Linked DNA regions of Homo sapiens: all the other regions are linked to region 1. Evidence: promoter capture Hi-C in human tissues and cell types (Jung and others, 2019). All regions are on one chromosome and are shown on one strand. The core of a region is centred on a gene start or on the middle of the fragment in contact, and the rest is flanking DNA. Distances in the headings are between cores, read along the strand shown. Region 1 holds the start of FAM83G (family with sequence similarity 83 member G). Region 2 overlaps LOC107985051 (a long non-coding RNA gene). Region 3 holds the start of B9D1 (B9 domain containing 1).

What was found. Contacts are between HindIII fragments. The study calls those that stand out against the background at their distance.
Region 2: a contact is called between a fragment that was not itself captured here and the fragment with the promoter of FAM83G in region 1, in 1 of the 25 tissues and cell types used here (hippocampus).
Region 3: a fragment that was not itself captured here is called in contact with the fragment with the promoter of FAM83G in region 1 in 1 of the 25 tissues and cell types used here (spleen).

Annotation. Positions count from the first base shown.
Region 1 is chr17:19,003,230-19,006,680 of GRCh38, reverse strand. It overlaps FAM83G (family with sequence similarity 83 member G), which reads left to right and starts at 1,917. Exons shown (of 6, transcript NM_001039999.3): 1 at 1,917-1,972; 2 at 2,512-3,161. The coding sequence starts at 2,640. The region is part of intron 9 of SLC5A10 (solute carrier family 5 member 10); the gene reads right to left. RefSeq lists silencers at 1-225, 1,746-2,045. The HindIII fragment of the contact is 10,221 bases long and covers 1-3,451 here.
Region 2 is chr17:18,611,224-18,614,674 of GRCh38, reverse strand. It overlaps LOC107985051 (a long non-coding RNA gene), which reads right to left. Exons shown (of 3, transcript XR_001752812.2): 3 at 1-3,034. It also overlaps the pseudogene CCDC144BP. Among named protein-coding and RNA genes, the nearest start is that of TBC1D28, 31 kb to the left of the region's middle. The HindIII fragment of the contact is 7,367 bases long and covers 1-3,451 here.
Region 3 is chr17:19,362,029-19,365,479 of GRCh38, reverse strand. B9D1 (B9 domain containing 1) reads left to right here and starts at 2,757. Exons shown (of 7, transcript NM_015681.6): 1 at 2,757-2,973. The coding sequence starts at 2,911. LOC105371573 (a long non-coding RNA gene) reads right to left here and starts at 2,703. Exons shown (of 3, transcript XR_934302.4): 1 at 2,309-2,703; 2 at 1,970-2,000. RefSeq lists enhancers at 2,288-2,357, 1,914-2,698, 3,158-3,297 and a silencer at 2,848-3,117. The HindIII fragment of the contact is 4,902 bases long and covers 1-3,451 here.

The DNA of each region.
Region 1 (3,451 bases), core at 668-3,167:
TGTGGGGATGGCTACAGAGAAGGAGATCTTTGTAGTGACAGAACAGTTCTGTATCTTGACTGTAATGGTGGTTACACAAATCTATACACATAATAAGGTTGTATAACACACATAAATGAGTGCATGTAAAACTGGTGAAATCTGGCCAGTGCAGTGGCTCACGCCTATAATCCCAGAACTTCGGGAGGCCAAGGTGGGAGAATCACTTGAGGCCAGGAGTTTGAGACCAGTCTGAGCAACATAGTGAGGCCTTGTCTCTACAAAAAAAAAAAAAAAAGAAAAAAGAAAAAAGAAAAAAAATTAGCTGGGCATGGTGTCTCTGGTCCCAGCTACTCAGGAGGCTGAGGCTTGAGCCCAGGAGTTCAAGGCTGCATTGAGCAATGATTGTACATACCACTGCACTCCAGCCTAGGTGACAGAGCAAGACCCTGTCCCAAAACAAACAAAAAACTGGTGAAATCTAAATAAGCTTTGTGGATTGCACCAGTGTCAATTTTCTGGCTGTGATATTATTGTATTATAGTTATGCAAAACGTCGCTACTGGGGAAAACTGGGTGCATACAACCTTCCTGCTCATCAACTGCAGAAGTGTTGGGGTGGTGGAGGTGGGAGTGAGGCCTTGGACTCCCTTCCTGAACTCTCCAGCCTCTGTGCATTGGTAAGAACACAGGGAGAAGCTGAGGCGGCTCAGAGAAGGTCTTACAGGGGATCCACAGTAGCAGAGGGGCTATAAATGGGTCTTCAGGACCCTCAAGGCAGGGCTCCCCCGCTGGGATCACCTCCCCTCTCTGGCCCTGGGGCAGGAGGAGGATGCAAATATGTGTGCCTGTTCCCCAGGGGCCACTATGTTCAGTAGCATAAAGCCCTTGGGGGGCTATATGGCAGAGTGTAGGACTTCATGCTTGAGGGGTCAGTGATGGGGACCACAAGGATGCTGGGCCTAGGAGGCTAGTCATTGCCCAGGGCAGTGGACTCAGAGGCAAGGAGTCCTGATGGGCCATGAATGGTGGAGAAGGCCTTGGAGGGGGGGGGTTTGAGGGCACAAGGCCTAGAGATGTCACCAGCCTACGGAAGCAGCATCCTTACGGGACCCAAACCAGCCCCATCCAGATCCAGAGCAAGTATGGGGGATGGGAGGAAGGGCTGGGCCTGGTGCCGGGCAGACTGGCTGCGGCACGCGATGGGGTGGGGGCTGTTTGTTGGGCCAGATTTAATGGGCTTTGCTGTCCCACCCTCAAAGCCTGCCTTCAGATGTGGTCTCCACGCTCCCCATAACCAGGGTCCCAACCCCAGGGGACGCTCAGCAGAGAGCTGGGCCTGACCCCAGCCCACAGCGGCCCTCTTGGCCCCTCCCTGCCCTAGGGTTCAGGTCGGGTGCTGCCCGCCACGCAGAAGCAGTCCGGGGACCCCTCCCAGAGGGGATCAGGGCTTAGGACTGAGAACTGGGTATCTGCTCAGGAAAGCCCTGAGTTTGGGTCAGTCAGTGCCCTATCCCTGCCTGGGGGCTCCCAGCCCAGTACCCTAGACCTGTTTCCACAACTGGACAGCTGGGTATCTATACAGCCGCACGGACTTCCCGCCACGCCGGCGAAACTGGGCACAGCCAGGGTTGATCCAGGATCACCAACAGACCCTGGGGGCACAGGGGGGTGCCAAGGCTGTTGACCCGCTGTGTGACCTCAGGGAGAACACTGTCCCTCTCTGGGATGGGTGTTCCAGGAGCTCTTGGGCTTAGGCCTCTGATATTTTCGGAATTCGGGCACCAGGGGACCGTGGGCAGTGCGTCCGCCCCAGGTCTGTCTGTCTGTCGAGGGGTGAATCAGCTTCCGGCCCCGCCCCGGGCGGCACGTGACCGCAGGTGGCGGCGGCGGGGTAAGCGGGGCGGCCCTGAGTCACCGGCGCGCCCCCGCCCAGCCTCGCGCCGCCGCCGCAGCCGCCGCGTGTGCGCCCCGCTCCGCCAGCGCCCGCTCGGTAAGCAAGTCCCGGCCGCGCCCCCCGGATCCCGGGTCTCGCGGGGCGTCGCCGCCCCGCAACCGCGTTTCTGGGTCTCCTGGACCCCTCCCAGAGCCCCAGCCTCCTCCGGGCAGGCCTCCTGGGTTGCCGGCACCCGGAAATTTTAAGACCCCTCCCTTACCCGGAAGCCCTCGGTTTGCGGGGCGCCTCTGTGCCGGGGCCGCCTCCCACTCTAAGAAGCTACTGGGAAGTTCCCCGGCTGCCCTAGTTTCCCTCAGAAGTTGCGAGGACTTCAGGCAGCTCCGGAAATCTGGGATATGGGTTCCCTGCACGTAGAGGCACGCTGAGCCCTGGGACGTGGCCCACCGCTCCCTCACCGCTGTTCCGATCCCTTACTTTCTTCCCATCCCAGTCCAGTGCCCCCACCTCATCTTCCCAGCCCCAGCCCCAGCCCCGTCCTTCCCACGCCCACCTGAGTTCCCGGCCCCGCCCCCGCCGCCCCTCCCCGCGCGGCCCGCCCTCCCCGCCGAGCCGGGCTCATCAGGTCTTTCCCGCAGATTGCTCATGGGCAGAGAAGCAGAGGCCGCGGAGAGGCCCCCGAGCGCGCGGTGCCCCAGCTGGGCCGGAGCTAGGAGCTGGACCTTGCCCACCCACCCCCGGCAGCAGTGCCCGGGCAGGCGGCGCCATGGCCTTCTCTCAGGTGCAGTGTCTGGACGACAACCATGTGAACTGGCGCTCCAGCGAGTCCAAGCCTGAGTTCTTCTACAGCGAGGAGCAGCGGCTGGCGCTGGAGGCCCTGGTGGCCCGCGGCCGGGACGCCTTCTACGAGGTGCTCAAGCGGGAGAACATCCGAGACTTCCTCTCGGAGCTGGAGCTCAAGCGCATCCTGGAGACCATCGAGGTGTACGACCCGGGCTCTGAGGACCCTCGGGGCACGGGCCCCTCTCAGGGGCCCGAGGACAATGGGGTCGGCGACGGCGAGGAAGCCAGCGGGGCGGATGGGGTCCCCATCGAGGCCGAGCCGCTGCCCTCCCTGGAGTACTGGCCCCAGAAGTCGGACCGCTCCATCCCGCAGCTGGACCTGGGCTGGCCCGACACCATCGCCTACCGCGGCGTGACCCGGGCTAGCGTCTACATGCAGCCCCCCATAGACGGGCAGGCCCACATCAAAGAGGTGGTGCGGAAGATGATCAGCCAGGCACAGAAGGTGAGGCAGCGCGGGGACTCCTGGAGCCATGGCCCAACCAGCCACCGGACCCCTCTCAATACAGGCTCACTCAGAGCCCAAAACGGGAGCCCAACATGGGCTTCTAGGGATCTCTGCTGTTTTCCCTGGCTGCCTCTTGGGTGGAGGTTTCCTCCCCACCTTCGTGGGGATCCGCAGTTTCTTTGCAGGGTAGGGTTCCCAGGTCCTAGCAGGTGACAGTGGGCTGCCCCGTCTCAAAGGGCCTCTTTATTGTTGGAGGGTGTTTCTGGTTCCCCAGAAGAAGGCACCGA
Region 2 (3,451 bases), core at 382-2,881, 390 kb after region 1:
ACAGGTATTGGTACATAAGTTACTATGGCAATATTAAGTAATTATAATCTGTCCTTCTTATCTGATTAACCTTTCAGTAAAATTGTGGGATAAAGTAGGCATAATAAGTTCTGATTTAAAATTAGAATAAAAATTGTCTTTCATTTTATTTTCATGGATGGACCAGTTTTGATTCATATTGTACTAAATCCCTGTTTACAATTATGAAATAAGATCAGATATTCAATCATTTTTGTGAATTTTTTTTTGCCTAAGTATACAATTAAAATTAATTGCTTTATGTGTTTTTATATGCTTCAATTTCGGAGATAGTACTCGTATTCTGTTACCTTGATCTTTAGTGATTTGCAATTTTCAAGGTGACTCTGTCTTTTTATAATTTAGGGTAATAGCAAGTTCAGTGAGTATGTGCTTTAGAATTAATAATATTATTTTCTGAGCAGTTCTAGATTCACAGCAAAATTGAGAAGGTACAGAGATTTTCCATATTCCCCATGACCCCTGACATATGAATAGCCTCCCTCATTATCAGTACCCCCCATCAGAGTTCATCAGAGTTACAGTTGAGGAATCTACCTTGACAGACACATCACCCCCAAGGTCCACAGTCTACGTTAGGGTTCACTCTTGGTTTTGTACATTCTATGGTGTTGGACAAATGTGTGATGGCATGTATATACCCTTGTAGTATCACAGACAAAATAGTTTCACTGCCCTAAATATCCTCTGTCCTCCACTGTTTCGTCTCTTCCTCTCCACTGGTTTCTGGCAACCATTGGTCTTTTTGGTGTCTCAGTAGTTTTGCTTTTTCCAGACTAGTCATATAGTTGGAATAAAACAGTGGTGGATATCTTTTTGAATATTTAAACAATAAAGTTCCATGGTAATTTGATTCTGTCATTTTAGATGTTCTTTGTCCTTGTGTTTGTTTTCCTCATGTTGTGTTCATCAGAACAGGATCTGATGGCGTATGATTTGACGTGCTGAGAAAGCGTGATTTCTGTAGATGTTTGCCACGTAACGGGGAGGGTGGGGAAAAATGGCATCATGCAGTATTCCACAGCACTAACTGGACCATCGTGCTCTAGGAGATGGGTCCAGATAGAGTCTAGCGATGGGACGGGATAATCTCAAGAGCTGGACTTTATAAAACTGGAATCACAAAGTCTTGCATACTTACCTTGCACTTAAAAAGAAGATCAGGCAGTGAACACTACAGGTGAATAAATATGTTCCTCTCTGGTTCTCTTCCTTTTAGGGATGAGCTTGAAAACAGTCTATATTATTAGAATATGGCTCATCTACAACTAAATGCTCTGTCATAGGAAATGCCAGTGTTTTTCTTTACAATAAATGAAAAATAATGTTGTTTTCACCAGAGAGAGTAACAACTGTTGGCACATTCTGGCAGCTTGAGTGAGCTGATAGTTCTGTTTATATATATTTTTCATACCAGGTAGTACTCCCTGGCAACCTGCCACCACTGTGGCAGTGTTTCTTCTTAAGCTTCTCACTGAATGAATGGTGTGGCTCAGAGTGAATAAGCTCTTTAAGGGAGTGATCTTTCCAGTGGTTCTGTCCATAGGAGGTAAAATGGGAGGTGAATTTGAGCCTTGTTTGTGCTAGGGAAAATAGCTAGAACTCAGTAAACATTGCCAGCATCTGCCCCAGAAGAGGATTAGTGAGAGTGAGTACATTGATCTCCCTTGAGCTCTTCTCCACTGGCAGCTGAAAAGTCTTTGCAAAGATCCTTATCCCTGGTCTCTTCCCTATGTTTTGCCACAGAACACAGCACAGCACCCATAGACCTACACAATAAAATGTACAGTTTTCCCCCCTTATCCATGGGGGTTATGTTCCAAGACCCCCAGTGAATGCCTGGAACAGTGGATACTACTGAACCCTAGATATGCAATGTCAGGATAGAAGGAAGAGGATAAGAGTAAAAGGGGGAATAAAGAATGTGGAAGGCAGAGAGTACAGAGAGTAAATGAAGGGAAAAGAAGCAAGTGGATATGATGGAGGGTGGTAAAATGAGATAATACTTCAAAAGAAGAGTGGGGTATTAGAAAGGTGGAAAGAATATAAGGTGAACGTGCAGCACCAAAACTTATCAGATAAGACAAACTTTACTTGCCAATATGTTAGTTGTGCTTTAAGTTTAATTATTTCATCATAGTGTGGCTATACTGATGATTTTAAGCCAGTCAGATATTCTGGTCAGCAAATCATGTGTGTGTGTTTTGATTATCAAAAACGAAGAAAGCAATTAATTACCCTTAATAACTACATGGTGGACACAGTCTTTTAAAACATTGATTCTGAAACTTTTTGGCCTGGGGTTCGTTTTATATGATTAAATATTATTGCCTAGAGGTAACCAACACCCTGAATTAAGAATTTATTATGTCCATTCCCTTTTAAAACATTTTATTACATATGTGTATGGTCATAAATAATATGTAGAATTTGTTTTCATGTCCTAAAATTGTATATAAATTGTTTTACACTCTACATATTTTGCAACTTTCTTTTGTCTGGTCACATTACATTTTTGAGGTCAGTCCTTATTGACACAGGAAGCTCTGGTTTTCTATCAAATGACTGGATCTCAAACTCTCTTCATAATGATAAATAAATAATTAAAATAAAGAAAAATTATTGCAAATTCCAAAGAGCTTTTATTTAAGTCGGTTGTGTCTTTTGATATTTACTATTTTAGAAATAAAAACTAAAATATTTTAAAAACAAGCATGCGGCCAGGCGTGGTGGCTAACGCCTGTAATGCCAGCACTTTGGGAGGCCGAGGCGGGCGGATCACGAGGTCAGGAGATCGAGACCATCCTGGCTAACACGGTGAAACCCCGTCTCTACTAAAAATACAAAAAATTAGCCGGGCGTGGTGGAGGGCGCCGGTAGTCCCAGCTACTCGGGAGGCTGAGGCAGAGAATGGTGTGAACCTGGCAGGCGGAGCTTGCAGTGAGCCGAGATCGCGCCACTGCACTCCAGGCTGGGTGACAGAGTGAGACTCCATCTGAAAAAACAAACAAACGAACAAAAAAAAACAAGCACGCTCAGCCATACATTCCAAAGCCTTTAGAACTATGACCCATTCACCATTAGAGCTATGATGTTATGACACACCATGTCTATGAAAAGCTCCACTGTACACGTGAAACAGAATGAGAGTGAAAATGGCAAATAACATTTTGTATTATTTGACGTCTTGGCCCCTCATCTGGATCTTGAACTCCAGGGATTCTCAGATCATAATTGAGAGTCAACATTTTAAACCACATATGTGGTTGTGGATAAATGCACCCTTTATGAAGAAATGGACTTTAAAGTTTCACTTATGTGTTTTTGGCTTTTTTCTTTCACTTGTCTTAAAAAATTTAAATCTCAGGCCGGGCACGGTGGCTCACGCCTGTAATCCCAGCACTTTGGGAGG
Region 3 (3,451 bases), core at 406-2,905, 360 kb before region 1:
TGTGAGGGGGCCCTCATCTCCCAAGAGTGGGTGCTCACAGGCGCCAACTGCTTTGACAGGTGGGTGCACAGCCAGGAGGGGTGGTGGAGAGGGGCTCCAGGAGGGTGGCCCCCAGCCTCTCCAGCTCTCCACCTCCCCTTCACCTCCTCTCTCCACAGTTGGCCTTGGTCCCACTTCAGTGTGACCTTGGGTCCAGATCGACTGCAGATGGACTCTTGTGAGATCAGGTTACCATGGGGGAGCTGCTCTTGTCCTCAGCAGGGCCCGAGGGCTCTGGGTTTGGTAGCCTGGTCCTGGCACAACTGGCAAGGGGCAAGGCCTCCGTCGCTCACCAGCGCTGTGCAGGCCGTCCCCCTGGCCACTCAATCCCACTGTTCCCTCTTCCTGAGACAGCTCTGCTGGGGCCAGGGGTTTGAACCCGATTTCAGTAAGGATGGGAGCAGAAGCCTGGGATGGTTGAGAGACTGGGGGAGGCAGATGGCCAGGGTGGAGCTTGGGACCCTGCAGGGGCTCTGGCCAGCTGCCCGGCAGCACCATGGCCATAGGCATGCAGGGAAGAGGGCTGGCGCTGACACCTGCTCTGCTCAAGCCAGCTTCCAGCCTCACCCCTGCCCAATGGCTGACAGCCCCGCCTGCCCAATGTGCTGGAAGCTTCCCTGAGGGGACTGCGTGGGAGTGTACCAGAGGACAGAGCTGTACTAAGAGTGAGGTGGGAGCGAGGAATGTCTAGGAGCCCAGGAAGGCATCTGGGGGTGGAGAGACTTGGCACAGGCACAGGCAGGGAAGCTCAGCAATATATGTTAACAACCAGCATGGCTGGACTGGTGCAGATCGGCTGGATGTCAGCTGGGCTGAGGGTCTGCCCCACCCCATTGCAGATCCCTACATCCCACCCCAAGAGCTGCAGAGTGTCCTGCTGAGATCGCTGTGTGTCAGCATCTGCAGAAACTACCTTCTCCTCCAACCTGACTGTCCTGACCTGAAGGACAGCCTGCCCAAGGACTTCTAGTACACCAGGCTCTCCACTGGGCCCTTGAACTGGTGGTAAGGATTCCAGCAGGCCCTATGCAAGCCCCTATGCAAGCCCCTGAGACCCCTCTCCTAAAGTCGCTTCTAATGCCACTAGACTTGTTAAAGTTAGGCCTGGTCACCCTCCCATCCTATCCTGGAGTCTTCCATTCCCCAACACCCAGGGGTCGGGCTTATTTGTACCCCTGAAGGCCACCCTAGAACTTCCCACCCCTTGGGGAGACTCCCCCATTATGTCCTATTTGAATGTGGGGCCACCTTTGGTATAGCCAGGTCTTAAACTACTGGGAGCCCCCAGTTATTCGATAACTACAAGCATTTTGCTGAAAACTAACTTGTGTGCAACACCGAGCCTCAAAGGCCAAAGGGAGGAAATAATTGGGTGAGACTGATAGAATGTGTGGGAGAAAGCACTTTAACTGGAAAGAGATGGACAGAGCGGGGGAAGAAGGGAGTATGACCCCCTCTCCAGGAGGGGAAATGGGCCCTGTCTTGGGCTCTGGGTGCAGCACTTGGGCCACCAGCCCACCCATCCCCTCCCCCAGCTGCTCTTGTCAGATGTGTGAACTGGTTACCCGCTGCCTCCCTCCCCTGATCAAATATCTTTGCTCACTAGGCAGGGGGTGGTTCAGTGGGTGCAGGCTGGGCTGAGACTGCTCCTTCCCTCCCTCGTGCAGATGGTTGATGGGACTCCCCTAGTCTGCTCCCAAGCTAGAAGCTGCAGAATGTGATGACCTGGGGTCCCTGCTCGGAGCCTGGCCTCCCGGGAGTCTACACACCTGTGAATCCCTTCATTTCCTGGATCCAAGATAATGTCTCCAACGTCTCCTTTGACACCTCTGCCAACAGATGCTGTTGGGGCTGGCCCAGGACAAGACAGAGGCAGTGAGGGTTGTTAGCCTCTGGAGTCCTGGGTTTGAATCCTGACTTAGCTACTTACCTGCCTTTGCCATCTGAATCTGTTTCCTCCTCTGTAAAATGGAGATGTCTTCAATTATTCATTTATCAACAAGTTAGTAGTTACCAAGTGCTTACTCTGTGACAGGCCACTAAGATACAAGACTGTATCTTGACAGATTCGTGGATTTTGGCTAGCAACTCCCCTGAGCGCTGGCTGATTGGGGTGCCAGGCGCCGCCCGCTGCGGGCCTCAGTTTCCCCAGCTTCGAACTAAAGAGCGATGGCTTGGATGTAAGGATTCTTGAGGTCCCTCCCAAGTTTGTTTAATAAACTTTTTCGAGGGCAAGCGTCTCCAAGCCACAGGGGCGCATCCTTTTCACCTGCTTGGACGCTGCTTGGCCCCAGCTGGGGAGGCTCCTCCGAGCACCCGGCATTCCAGAGTTAGCCCCGACAGCTGTGGTCACGTCGCCCGTGCTCTGCAGCGCCTCCCTCCGCGTCCTCGCGGTGGGGCCACAGCGACATCTAGTGGCTGAATGTATTTTAAACACTCGGCTTGCTGAGGGCGTGAGTCGGAGCGCTGCTCCCCAGGACTCAGCTCTCATTCGCCTCTGCGCTTCGGCGGGGACGGGGAGCCGGGCCGAGTCAGAGTGAACACACACTCCCTGCGCGTGCAACTGAGTCGAGCGGTAGGGCTGGCTTTACCCGACAGGTCAACGCTCCCGCCCCAGCTCTCGGTCATACCTGCCCTAAGGAGGGGTGGAGCCTCGGCGTGGATCCCCGCCCCTTGTGCCCCGCCCCCTTATAACGGCGCCCGTTCACTGCGCCTGCGCATGCCACACGCGCACTCGCGTGGCCTTCGCGAAGGTGTCGCTGCCAAGAAACGTGTCCTGCGCGCTACGCCGTCTGTTTCTAGGGCAACGCCGGCGTCTCTTAGCAACCGCGCGCGGCCTAGGTGGGTCCCCCCGGCACCCCCAGACCTGCCATGGCGACCGCGAGTCCTAGCGTCTTTCTACTCATGGTCAACGGGCAGGTGGAGAGCGCCCAGGTGAGCGGCCGTGGACCCCGCCGGGGCCCGCCCCCCAGCGTCCCCCGGGGCCCTTCCCGCAACCCCCCGGGCTGCCCTGTGGCCCCCGGAGAGCCACGTCATTCCTCTGAGCCTCTCGGTTAGGCGGGGGAGGGGAGCCAGCATTGGAGAGCTTGGCGCGAGGTTGCCCGGATCCTGAGTCCCGATGTGCAGGAATAGAAGCAGACCTCGAGATGTTGAGCTAGTACCGAGGTCACACTCGGGCAAGCCTGTGGGCCCTCGCACGGGTCATGCCCACTTGCTTGGATCACTGGCAGGAGCCTCCTGGGGTTAACGCGAGGAGCCGAGGCTTGGCCGAGTTTCCAGCATTTGCGCTGTGTCCCGTGTGGAGTTACTGTCCCGCGTTCTGAATCCCCAGATCCTTGAACTCGGGTTCGAATCCAACCATCCAACAATGGTGGTGGCCTGGAATTGACCCAAGGAAGGTGTGCCTGCTAGG